Linked DNA regions of Homo sapiens: region 1 is linked to region 2. Evidence: promoter capture Hi-C in 16 types of primary human blood cells and fetal thymus (Javierre and others, 2016). All regions are on one chromosome and are shown on one strand. The core of a region is centred on a gene start or on the middle of the fragment in contact, and the rest is flanking DNA. Distances in the headings are between cores, read along the strand shown. Region 1 overlaps TMEM131 (transmembrane protein 131). Region 2 holds the start of VWA3B (von Willebrand factor A domain containing 3B).

Evidence for each region. The method cuts DNA at HindIII sites, captures the fragments that hold promoters and counts their contacts. A CHiCAGO score of 5 or more calls a contact.
Region 1: a fragment that was not itself captured here is called in contact with the fragment with the promoter of VWA3B in region 2 in 4 of 17 cell types (total B cells, naive B cells, M2 macrophages and 1 more); the score reaches 8.6 in total B cells.

What each region holds. Positions count from the first base shown.
Region 1 is chr2:97,827,783-97,834,683 of GRCh38, forward strand. It overlaps TMEM131 (transmembrane protein 131), which reads right to left. Exons shown (of 41, transcript NM_015348.2): 10 at 6,839-6,895; 11 at 5,583-5,644. It also overlaps the pseudogene HMGN1P36. Among named protein-coding and RNA genes, the nearest start is that of ZAP70, 120 kb to the left of the region's middle. The HindIII fragment of the contact is 755 bases long and covers 1,854-2,608 here.
Region 2 is chr2:98,083,338-98,089,740 of GRCh38, forward strand. It overlaps VWA3B (von Willebrand factor A domain containing 3B), which reads left to right and starts at 3,830. Exons shown (of 28, transcript NM_144992.5): 1 at 3,830-4,026. RefSeq lists enhancers at 3,558-4,058, 3,955-4,024, 4,059-4,559. The HindIII fragment of the contact is 2,164 bases long and covers 2,633-4,796 here.

The DNA.
Region 1 (6,901 bases), core at 981-3,480, 260 kb before region 2:
ATTGAATTATGGGAGGCTCTGATTGTCTCGGGTGTCAGCTTAACATTCCATAGATGGGGGGTTAGTTTTTATATCCTATAATACAAAGCATATTAAATGGCAATATGGAGTCAGTCCTGCATTTAATGTCTTGAACATTTTAAATTACTTCTATTACCATGTTGTTTTTTAGTAGAATTGTTTCCTAAAGAAAACCACTCTTTGATCATGGCTCTCTCTGCCAGAATTGTGTGCACTCTGTAACATCTTTGGTTGTGGTAGTCCTGTTTTCCTAATAACTTTGTTACTGTGCTGTGAAAGATTACAAATTTGAATATGTAGTGTACGTGCTATTGAGTTGTGAACTGGTGGGCTGTATGTAACAGCTGACCAACATGTGAAGATACTGGTACTTGATAGCCTCTTAAGGAAAATTTGCTTCCAAATTTTAAGCTGGAAAGTCACTGGAATAACTTTAAAAAATAATTACAATACATGGCTTTTTAGAATTTCGTTATGTATGTTAAGATTTGTGTACAAATTGAAATGTCTGTACGATCCTCAACCAATGAAATCTCAATTATGAAAAAAAAAAAGTGTAACATATATTATCCTAACTTCTAATCTTATGGAAATCAGACATAGGGTCTGTGCCCCTCAAAGCTCAAGTGTCTCAGCACAGGGCCATACAACTAACACCCCTACTTATAGGGTTAGAGATGGCCACTGCTACAGGAACCAGAATAGCAGGTTTATCTACATCATTATCCTACTACCACAAACTCTCAAAGGATTTCTCAGACAGTTTGCAAGAAATAATGAAATCTATCCTTACTCTACAATCCCAAATAGACTCTTTGGCAGCAGTGACTCTCCAAAACTGCTGAGGCCTAGACCTCCTCACTGCTGAGAAAGGAGGACTTTGCACCTTCTTAGGAGAAGAGTGTTTTTTTACACTAACCAGTCAGGGATACTACAGCGTTTACAGGAAAAGGCTTCTGAAATCAGACAACGCCTTTCAAACTCTTTCAATGCCTTTCCAACTCTTATACCAACCTCTGGAGTTGGGGAACATGGCATCTTCCCTTTCTAGGTCCTGTGACAGCCATCTTGCTATTACTCGCCTTTGGGCCCTGTATTTTTAATCTCCTTGTCAAATTTGTTTCCTCTACGATCGAGGCCATCAAGCTACAGATGGTCTTACAAATGGAACCCCAAATAAGCTCAACTAACAACTTCTACCAAGGACCCCTGGATCGACCCACTGGCCCTTTGACTGGCCTAGACAGTTCCCCTCTGGAGGACACTACCACTGCAGGGTCCCTTCTTTGCCCTTATCCAGTAGGAAGTAGCTAGAATGATCATTGCCCAATTCCCAACAGCAGTTGGGGTGTCCTATTTAGAGGGGGGATTGAGAGGGGAAGCCAGCTGGATTTCCTGGGTTGAGTGGAGACTTGGAGAACTTTTCTGTCTAGCTAGAGGACTGTAAACACACCAATCAGTGCTCTGTGCCTAGCTAAAGGATTGTAAATGCAACAATCAGCACTCTGTAAAAATGCACCCATCAGCGCTCTGTATCTAGCTAAAGGATTGTAAATGCACCAATCAGCACTCGGTAAAAACGCACCAATCAGCGCTCTGTGTCTAGCTAAAGGATTGTAAATGCACTAATCAGCACTCTGTAAAAATGCACCAGTCAGCACTGTGTCTAGCTAAAGGATTGTAAATGCAACAATCAGCACTCTGTAAAATGGACCAATCAGCGCTCTGTAAAATGGACGAATCAGCAGAACATGGCGGGGAGCCAAATAACGGAATAAAAGCTAGCCACCCAAGCCAGCAGAGGCAACTAGGGTCCCCTTCCACGCTGTGGAAGCTTTGTTCTTTCGCTCTTAATAAATCTTGCTGCTGTTCACTCTTTGGGTCCGCACCACCTTTAAGAGCTGTAACACTCACAACGAAGGTCTATGGCTTCATTCTTCAAGTCAGAGAGACCAAGAACCCACCAGAAGGAACCAACTCTGGACACACAATGAAGGCTTGACCATTTTTCAATATGCTTAAAGGCTAGAAGTGGGAGTTCATCAACAACAAGCACAATATTTTTTGAGTGTTATCAGCCTGTACAACACCAAGCCAGAAATAGCAAAGCAAGGATGTTTGTTAAAATATAGTCACTATTAGTAAGAATTTAAAATAGTTGATGAAATTTTTTTCATGTGAAACACACCACTTTAAGATTTTCCTTACCAGATAAAAACTTTACATTAGTATTGCTACCTTAAAATACGCTGCAGTAATAACAAAGAAATATTCAACTGAAAACTCATGTTTTATACAAATGGTCTGAATTCTTCACTCATTATCAGTTAAAAAAAAAAAAAAAAAAAAAAAACCAAACCCAAATTGTTAAAACCCATTTTCCAGGGAAACAAAAAGCCAACAAACAAACCCAAGACAAAACACTTAAGTAGCTGGCCCATTCTGGTGGCTTTAAATGACAACTCATACACAATCAACACCTTGTAGTAAGCATATTTATACAACAACCTGTTAGTGACTATTGCTAACTCAAAGATAATCAAGAAGTATAAAACTATTGCAAGTTTCCCAGGAAAGGCAGTTCGCAAGCTTGCATATGTTCTAAATATAGTTCTAGGCTTTTCTCACAACATTCAGACCCAACTAATGCTCAGTAACCCTCAAGTGAAATTCAACGGTCCGGAACATTCTAAAACTGCTTATAAAAGCACTTGAGCAAATAAGGAAAAAAGCACTTTCAGCATTTAACATTGTATTTCTAATAATTTGTGTATGAGTTCACTAAAGCATATGTTAAGCTGATATTATGATTCCGATTTGTTAATTACCAAGGGAAACCTCATGCAAACATTCCTCTGAAGGCATCTCAGGCAAACTTACTCCATCATTTATACAGCACTAATGTTTTGTAAATGCTGAGGAAAGCCATTTTCTCAAAGTTGCATTATAGACATATTAGGAGAGTTTGGACCTGCGCATCCTGTCTGTTAGCAGTTGAGGAACTTCTATTTGGAATTGCTTGCTTTAGTAATCCTATATTTAGAAAGAGAATGAATTCCCTGAAGGGGAATTTAAAAAAAAGATCTCCAGCTTCTAGCACTGCTTAGCAAATCCTGAAAATTCTATGTTTGTGAAACAAAAGGAGACAGGAACCTTTCTAAATATCTATAGTCTCTAAGCCTGGTGAATTATGCAGAAAATGCTGAAACACACAGGGAAAACCTTAAGAAGAGCTCTGAAAACTCAGTTTCCACGGTAGGTGGGCTTGCCCCATAGCTGATAAGGTGGGAAATCTAAGCCACCATCATTTCTCAGGCTGATTGCTAAATCAGATCCCAAGTGGTCTCCTTTGCTTTCTGCCCTTCCATGTCTGTAAGTTCACTCTCCACAAAGTAGCTACAGTGACCTTTTACAACACATAAATCAGATGATGTCACTCTCGTTTAAAATCCTGTAATAATTTCCCATTACACTTAGAATAAAATCTAAATATCTCCCAGAGTTCCAGAGAGCCCTGATAAACAGTGAGCTTGATGGGGTAGGGAACCCCAGTGGTCTGATTCACTGCTGTATTCTCAGTCAGCATAGCAGCTAGCATACAGTTGATGTTCATTAAATATTTATTGAATGGGTGAATGAAGGCGGGAATAAGAGAAAACTACCAAAACACTGGCAGAGTTTGGGCTTTGGATATTATAAAAGATACACACATAGGTAGGTACAGATGTAGGTACAGATGTATTATATTAACAGATATATAGGTTTTTAACAGAAATAGACTATGCAATTAAAATGATATATTCATAAAGATGTGATTGCTAAGTGACACTGTATAATATACTTTCATGTTTCACATACCTCTTTTTTTTTTTTTTTTTTTTTTTTTGAGACAGTCTCGGTCTGTTGCCCAGGCTGGAGCACAGCGGCGTGATCTTGGCTCACTGCAGCCTCCACCTCTGAGGTTCAGGCAATTCTCCTGCTTCAGCTTGAGTAGCTGGTACTACAGGCACATGCCACCATGCCCAGCTAATTTTTGTATTTTTGGTAGAGACAGGGTTTCGCCATGTTGGCCAGTCTGGTCTTGAATTCCTGACTTCAAGTGATCCACCAGCCTCAGCCTCCCAAAGTGCTGGGATTACAGGCGTGAGGCCACCATGCCTGGCCTATTTTTGCATTTTTTATAGTTGTGTAAGTCACTTCCAAAAAAAAAAAAAAAAAAAAAAGCAGCTCTAACTCAGCTTTCCTATCTAGAAAACTAGGACCACTGCACCATATAGGTATTAAGTAATACATTTATTACATAGCAGTACTAGCATAGTGCCTGACCCAGTAAGAGCAAAAATGTTCACTTACAATATATCCTAAAACTCCTTAGTGAATAAGAAAAAGGACAAACATGGGCCTATTTAATTCCATGTCATAAGTGACCTGAGTACTAGTTCTTCATTCACATTCTTAGGGTTAATTGCCAATTTCATTTTCCTATAATATGTTTATTGAAAAAGATACTTGTTTCAGTCCATTTATTGTACGTAAAAAGTTAGGCTGGTTTGCTTGGGCTAAGTAAAGGCACTTTCCCATCTAGGAGAAATGCTAGGTCAGATATGAAGACAATGCCTGCATCCCGGTCCCACTAGTGAGGAAGGTCACTGCGCATCAGAATGTGGTTACCTGGGAAGACCATCTCTTGCTTCCTCGCTGGGGTTTGTATATTCTTCTCTCTTTGGTCTACTCCACCAGCTGGTGATAAAATCTGGGTATGGCCATCGATGGACAAAGGTCCCTTAAATCTCAAGCCCACATGATCTATATTTCATTTTGTCAGTTCACTGAAGTTAAGTTTCTGGCATCAGCACAAATTATAATAAAAATGTCCTATTTTCCTATATAATGATTACACATGTATATATCTTGGGGACCTCATCAGGGAGAGACGTTGTGGGCCAAGGCAAAACTTAGATATCCCTTTTTTTCCTAAAACTATCTAACGGCACCTCAATTCCATATGGCCTAAAAGTTACTTACTCTGTATGTATGTGTGAGGGAGAGAGGGCCTTAGTTTATAATGTGCTGCCTACGGTAACTCAATAACTGCTAGTTAGGGAGCCTGTGACAAGTGTTAACAGCACTTTACCACTACCTACAACATTTTTTTTGCTTATTTTCTTCCCAATTCATCTGACTCTTCTTCCTCTTTCCTGCCCATACCTTAACTCCAACAACCAAATCTGATGAAATCCTTATAACCTGTTTTTCTATACACATGGCCCACAGATTTTAGGATTTATCAGAACAGGCCTTTTATATGACTGTGCCTGTATAAGAAACTCATGAACTTTGGTTCAAACTTACTTTGAAAAGATTGCCCATTTCTCTCTCATCCTTAAAATCCGGGTGGCTGGGGCAGAACAGGTTTCTCACATCACACTTAGAACCAAAGTGTCACCAGGTCATCACCAAATATAATTATTTTAGAATAAGGGTTTAATTATTTTTAACTTTGTCATACATTTAAAAACAAAGAATATATAAATTAGGGGAAAAAAGAAGTAAAAACTTACTGTTATTGGTACATCTTTTGTTCCTGAATTTAATAAATGAAGGTTTAAAACTTTTGGTAGATCTGTTAAAATTGAGGAAAAGAAATATTTCTTAAAAAGGTGCTTTTTAGCCAAGTTAGAATCTTTACCTTATAAGATATCAAATTGAAGCTATCAATTTGTGAAATACAATGACAATAAGATTAATAAAAAGAAACATTAGGTGGTAATTGCTTTACTCATAAGGACATTGTGTATTATAAGAACTGTTCCCTCTTAAACCAGATTTTTGAAAACCCCAAAATATATACTTTTTTTTTTTTTTTTTAAATGAGACAGAATCTTGCTCTGTCACCCAGGCTGGAGTACAGTGGGGCATTCTTGGCTCACTGCAACCTCAGCCTCCTGGGTTCAAGTGATCCTCCTACCTCAGCCTCCTGACTAGCTGGGATTACAGGCATGTACCACCATGCCCAGCAGACTTTTGTATTATTTTTTTAGTAGAGATGGGGTCTCGTCATGTTGGCCAGGCTAGTCTTGAACTCCTGGCCTCAAGTGCCCTGCCTGCCTCCACCTCCCAAAATGCTGGGATTATAGGCATGAGCCATCATGCCCAGCCCCCCAAATATTATTTTTTTGTGAAGTCAGACATTACTAATCTTTTAGCTTTCCAGCAAAACATAATGAAGCAAATTAATAATTTACAATGTAAAAATATACTAACAGCAAATCTAATTTTTAAACATATGGTCTTCAATCTTAACTACATATTATTATATATAGTCCATATACATCCCAAATTACAAGTGCTCTTAGTTTTTCCTTAGCAAAAATCTTTACTTAGTTGTTTTTAATTTCAGAATTTGAGTTTTCTGAACAGCTGCAACAAACTTTCAACATTTTGTCAAAATGTAATTTAATAACTCATATCTAAACAAAATCCAGAAGTAAAAATCAAGATTCAGCGTAACTGAACTGATGAGCAACTGGATTAAGAAACTAGAAAACTATTTTCTGCCTCAATCTTCCATTTAGATGACTTAAATTATCCCATGGCCTTGTTTTCCAACCTGTTAAGCAATGCCACCCACCCCTCAGCGGAATGGGGTATAAACCTGTAAAGGCGCTGAGTCTGAAAAGGAGATTTGTACAAGATCATGCAACCAACTGAGAAATAATGTTTAAAGCTGAATTACATAGTAGAGCCATTCAGCACTGAATACAGGGGTTAAAAAAAAAAAAAACTCCATAAAGACTCTTTTAAAAGATTTTTTTACCTTGTGTTCTTAGTGTACCAAAATCTAACATTTCAGTTGAGGAATAAATTCCAGGAGCTTGGA
Region 2 (6,403 bases), core at 2,580-5,079:
TGCCCAACTCCTGTGCCCACATAGCCAGGTCACCCCGCACTAGAGTTAGAGGCACTTAAAGTAAGGAAATTCCTTATCTCCTTCTGCCATTGTCTATCGTGCTGCTCATCTTCAGGAACTGCAGAAAGATGATGACCACACCAAGGCAAGACTGAGTCCATTCCTGAATATCATTCCTGTAAGATCAAAATCTCATTCTAAGAGTATTGTCTTTGCTAGGTTTTAGTATCAGTAACTATTTTGAAGAGTGATTTGAAATTTCCAAATATTTGAGAGTTTTTGTTTATATAAAATATTTTTGTTCAGTTTTTCTTAATTTGCTGTGGGGATATGTTAGTACCCTACAAGGCATCCAGCTTTTAAAATAATGCCACATTACAAAGGAATTGGTTAACAAGAAGTGTAGGGGGGAAGGGTAATTTTTTTTTTTTTTTTTTTGAGACGGAGTGTCACTCTGTTGCCCAGGCTGGAGTGCAATGGCACAATCTCGGCTCACTGCAACCTCTGCCTCCCAGGTTCAAGTGATTCTCCCGCCTCAGCCTTCCAAGTGGCTGGGATTACAGGCACCCGCCATCATGCCCAGCTAATTTTTGTATTTTTGTAGAGACAGGATTTCACCATGTTGGCCAGGCTGTTCTTGAACTCCTGACCTCAGGTGATCTGCCCACCTTGGCCTCCCAAAGTGTTAGGGTTACAGGCGTGAGCCACGGTGCCTGGCCGGGGAGGGTAATTTAAAAACAGACCTGCTTTATGCCATTTAAAATGGGAATATGTCTTGTTAAAAACACATTTAAATCCAGGGAGGTTTCTCTGTGCCATTAGTATCAAGCACTAAATGAACACTGTATGACTGAGATGACAGAAATTTCCTCTTGGAGAAAATTGAAGCCAACAGTTGATCAACACAGCATATAATTAACAGGGCAGGGTGTGGAGTCAGGCTGCCTGGGTTCAAATTCCGGAACCACCATTGAGTGGCCTTGGAGAAATAGCTTAATATTCTGTCTCAGTTTACTTATCTAGAAAATGGACATAATTATGATGTCTCCCTCAAAGAGCTTTTCTAAGTATTAAATGATGTAATATATTTAAAGAGGTTAGAACATGGTCTGACATTCAATACATTCTAGCTATGATTAAGTGTTAATTCAGTCTGGTAAAAGTGAACGTAGTCTTTGCCAAGGGTAGTAAAAAAGCTCTGACCCTCATCAAAGATGTTAGATTGAGAGCCAGGAGTCTACATTCATTGTCCCAAATAATGAATGCTGAACTCAAGAACATCACAGCATAGAGAAACCTCTGTTTGAGCTCTACCTCCCCGTGATGGCCCCTGTCCCCACCTACCTCTCCCAAGGCTGCCCCTGATGGCGAAAACTCCCTTCACCACAAGAGCTAACAAAGGTTCAGCAGGAACTGCCTCACTCTCTCAGTTTCTCCTTCCTCTTCAGAGGGAGTGCCTCTGTTTTAATTCCAGCTCAGGTTCTTTCTCACACATATATACAAGGAGTTAACATTCTCCGTCTCCTCTGGTTCCAGTTTTTGCAGTGGGCTTAGGAAAATGCTTTTCCTCCCTTCATTTCCTTTATCACCCTCCCTCCTCCACCAAACATTCTGATCATGGCCATAAGCCCAAGCAGTGGCAGTGATAGACTTGTATAAAGAAAAGGAAAACCCATTGAACCTGAAAAGTAAACAGCACAAAGGTCAAATAACAACGAAAGGCTTGTCAAAGGCTTGTACATGGTTGCCAAGAGTGTGGTACTGGCAAGCAATGCTTTGAGACTGTACAGGTAGAGAGAAGTTATTAGGGCCGCAGCATCCATGGGAGGGCTTTGGGGAGAGAGAGAAGAGCTAGAGCTGACCCTGAAGGGACGGTGATTCCCAAACTGTGGTAATCTGGGTGGCCTGAGTAAAGTCATCTGTGCTCAGAGGCAGGGACCAGGTGGGTCTCTCTGGGATGGGGGTTTGTGTTGGAGGCAATGAGCAAAAGTCTGAAAGTATAATTTGAGCCCTTAATGGTAAAGTCCAGAAGTTTGACATCAAAGATGGCAGTGATTTGATCAATGTCGCTTACTGAGGTTTAAGGAAAGATACAAATTATCTGTAAAAATGTAAACTCAAAACAAATTTGTCAAAAGTTCAGTATAGTAGTGTATCACCACTGTGCTAAAGGTTTTCTTATTTCAAATAACTCAATAAAAATGAGGCAAACCATTCTGTAACTAGCTAAACTGAAGTCCATACCAACTATTTAATGCTTCAAAATAACCTTAAACTTCTACTCACTTATCATTCTACAATTTAAGTAAGTAATGTTTCACATTTTCAACAGAATGTATGCTTATAGACACATAAACACGAAAGATAGGGACAGATCATCTTGGTGACTTGCACGTATGTGGCAAGTGTCCTAGGGAAAGGAGCAGGCATGGGGTGAAGGTGGGAACAAGAGTGCCTGGCGTGACCATGTGAGGCAGGGCATTTGGCTATGTGTTGCTGTGTGCTCTGTCTCACCCCCGTGACCCAAGAATATTAGTGTGGCAGGGTGTGGACAGCAAGGATTAATGGGTCATTGGCAAACATGGGCGAGGCTGGTGTTTTACTCCCTTCTGAACAGTCTTCAGTACTATCAAGCTTTTGCTTGTTTTTTGGTGGTGTGGATGGCAGGTTTCATTTGCAGGGCCAAATATATATAAACTAATAACTGCCAGGAATGATTTGTGATATGGAATGAAATCTTTCAGTACTTTTTAAATGATAGAGGCATTAAAAGAATGCAGGAGAAATAAATTCCTGTGGATGAAGCAGACTTTTTTTGGGGGGACAGAATTACTCAGTTCTAACATTAACTATGTTTTATTAGTTCTTTGAAAAACCTGCAAATGATCTGGTCAGTTCTATAATTTTAAAATCTAAAATCGTTTACTATCCCAATACCCTAAAAACAATACTTACTGTGGGGTCTTTTATTAAGACTTTAAAGATACTTTTCATAAGCACAATTTTATTTCCTGGTGACTGGAAAAATAGGAAAATATTTAGAGCCTTTTGCTTAATTGATAAGGTAACACTGAAACAAAGGTTAAAAACAAAGCTGAATGGAGAAAATAATGCCTATAGAAATATTCATGTCAAACAGGTAAGAATATTCTTGGCAACTGCAGCCCCTGCCTCCACAATTGCAAAATTGCAGCTCCCTGTCCCTTCTGTCTGTCTCAGCTCCGCCCACGTCCAGTGGCTGAGCTACAACGAACTGCCCCACCTCTTTTAAAGCGTCTTTCTCTGAACTGTGCAAGGAAGAGAGCATCGCCTGACAGTGGTGAGGTGAAAATTAAAACTACACAGGGGTCAATGCTCTGCTGAAAAGTATGAAAAGAAGTTCGTTTGTAGCGTTTCCCGCAGTCTCCTCGCCTCTCCTCGGCCTCTGGCGCCTTCCTCCCCTGTCTGCTCGCACCCTATATTTCTACCCCAGCTCATCAGTGTATTTGTTTGTTAATTCATTCATTCTTTCATTCATATTCTCCGCTGTTGTTAATTTTCCCATTGACAGTAGGCGCAAGGGGCAACGCCACTCGCCCTGTCCCTCTAGCGTGGCCTCTGTTTGGGGGTCTGGGGTGGAGGTCGTCCCGGCCCGGGTGGTTCCGGACGCCGGCTTTCCGCACCTGGCTCGGTGACGGCCTCGGCGCCCCGCCCTCTTGGCCACGGTCCGCAGCCATCGCCCCAGTGAGGGCGCGGTCTGTGGGCGGGGCCGGCTCCAGGAGCCGCGCTGTGATTGGCCGTGTCCAGGCAACCGCGGAGACGCCGTCGTCAACAGACCGCGCTCGGAACCAGAGGCGCGGGTCACAGAGACCTAGAACAGCTGGAATCCTTCGCCCCCGGCGCGCAGCCTTCGCCCGCCGGAATCGCTGCCTTATCCACCAGCGGGATGCTTACCTCGCCCGCCCTCTCGGGTCAGGCGGGCCCGGGAGGATGGGAGGGTGGCTGCTGAGCGGGAGCCGCCACGTCTTCCACCCGACATATTGCCTAGTAAGTGTGGGAGCGATGCCTGCCGCACGAGAGCCGCCGAGGTGCCGAGCCTTCCAACAAGCGGCCTAGGGAGGTCTTGGAAAAATGCCATTTCTGAGGTGGACTACACGCCCACTTTACAGATGCGGAAACAGTACCAGGAAAGCTCGGTGACTTGCCCTGGCCCACTTAATCGTCCGCTACCCAGGGCAAGCCGAGGGTCAAGGTACCGACCCCTCCTACTCTAGAGCTCTTTCCATCACACCTCACCCGAGCCCACGCCCAGCCGCTCTGGTGGAAAAGCGGTTTTCCTAGTTTCTGTCTATGCCATAGGCCAGCAGTTCAAGGTGATGAAGTCCACCTGGGCTTTGGAGGGAACATGGGAACCAGAAGAAACACATTTCCTGAACATAAGGATAAATATGTATAGTCTAAAAGCCAAAGCAACACTTACATGGTTTCACAATCATATCAGTTTCTTTCACCCTCCTTATATGGAAATAAGACTTAATAAGTAGATTTAGTTTCCATTTGGTAGAGCTTTTCCTTTCATTTTCTTGGAAGCTCTGTTTCTTCTCAGCAATGACCTTCCTCCTAAAGCACTCCAATTATTCTCAGATATTGCCTTCTTGACTATTTTCTCAACGGTGGGACAGTCCGTTTCAATATCCTTGTCTCTGTCCACATTATTTGAGCCAATGATCACAGCCAAGCCTTGTCCCTTAAGGGCAGAAAAAATGGGAGGAGGTTTAAGGGTTTCTGGGGAAGAGTTGCATCAGGATCCATCATGAAGCTTCGTCCCAGTTTCCTTTCTTCCTGGAAAAATCATCGTTCACAAATTCACCTAAATCACAAGATATATATCCACCTAGCCCAGACTTCTTTTTCAGAAACTAACAGGGGTATAGGAAGTTTGGGGTGTTGATAATAAAGTAGCTAGAAGCTTATTGAATGTCTAAACTGGATTAATGGACTCTCAACCCTGCACTGTCCCTGAACCTCCGAGCACATAGGACCTTTTCTCTGAGGGCATGCTGACTTCACAAGACTGTCGCCCAGGGCAGCCCAGGAGCATCTGCTTCCAGTAGACGGGGCCCTTGTACAGTTGCCAGCTTAACCTTTCTATTTTCCCCAAAGCTTTGCCTGCCCACATTTTCAGCTCAGACTTTCACTTCCTTGTTTTTCCTTTTACACTTCCTCCTTCTTCTAAGGAAATACTTTCCTATCCAAACTCTATGTATGGTTCTTGGGATGGCCTCTAAAACTTAGGGCAATGCTCAACTCCGGTATGTTGTTGTTTCCGACTTCTGGGTTACTTGGTTCCCCAATTTATAATAACCTCAGCTGAGGAAACTCTGAATAATAGTAAATAAATAAATAAATAGCATAGTTTTATCAGAAAATAATATATCCCCCTTTATTTTTTTTTGAGACAGGGTCTCGCTCTGTCCCCCAGGCTGGAGTGCAGTGGTGCAATCTTGGCTTACTGCAACCTCTGCCCCCTGGGTTCAAGCAATTCTCCTGCCTCAGCCTCCCTAGTAGCTGGGATTACACGTGTGTGTTACCATGCCCGGCTAATTTTTGTATTTTTAGTAGAGACGAGGTTTCACCATGTTGGCCAGGCTGGTCTCAAGCTCCTGACCTCAGGTGATCCGCCCGCCTTGGCCTCCCAAAGTGCCAAGAGAGCACTTTGGCACTTTAAGGGGGCATTACAGGAGTGAGCCACCGTGCCCGGCCAATATATCCCTTTTTTAAAAGAGCTGTTTCCTGATATTAGCCTTATTAACACTGTGGATATTTGCCTTCTTTGAACAAAATCAGGATTCTCTTAGTAGCTCTGAGTGATCAGTTTTATTCATCTCAACTCTCACACCAAGTGCCTGCTGCGTATGAGGCCCTGTGCTGAGAATCTTCCTGTAGTTTGTCTCCGTAGTCATTGAACTGTCTTTAAGTCTAGTGAGGACAAGCCTGAAGTGCCTAAGACCTTAGTGATAAAGTATCATAGCAAAAGTTAGGGTTTTCCCAGGGAGGGGCTGCGGAAGGTTGTGAAGGGGTTTCGGGGAGGCTTAATGGCAGAGGCAGCATTTGAAATGAGACTTGCAGGCTAAGAGTCTGCATAGGAGAGCCGTCTGAGACCAACCTGGAGGTGGGAAAGCAGGCGGGCTAGTGGGGGTGGGGTGGGGAGAAGGGGGCTACGTCCCGGCTCGCAGCAGGCTTCCTTGCTCTGATAGAACAGTTCCTATCCCACTTGAGTGGAACAATTCCTTCTGTTGGGAGATGGCTTTTCTCCCTTTCCCCCTTTCCTTCCTTTTTTTTTTTCCAGACAATACAAATATTCCATTTGTATTTCAGACAATACAAATATTCCATTTGTATTTCAGACAATACAAATATTCTC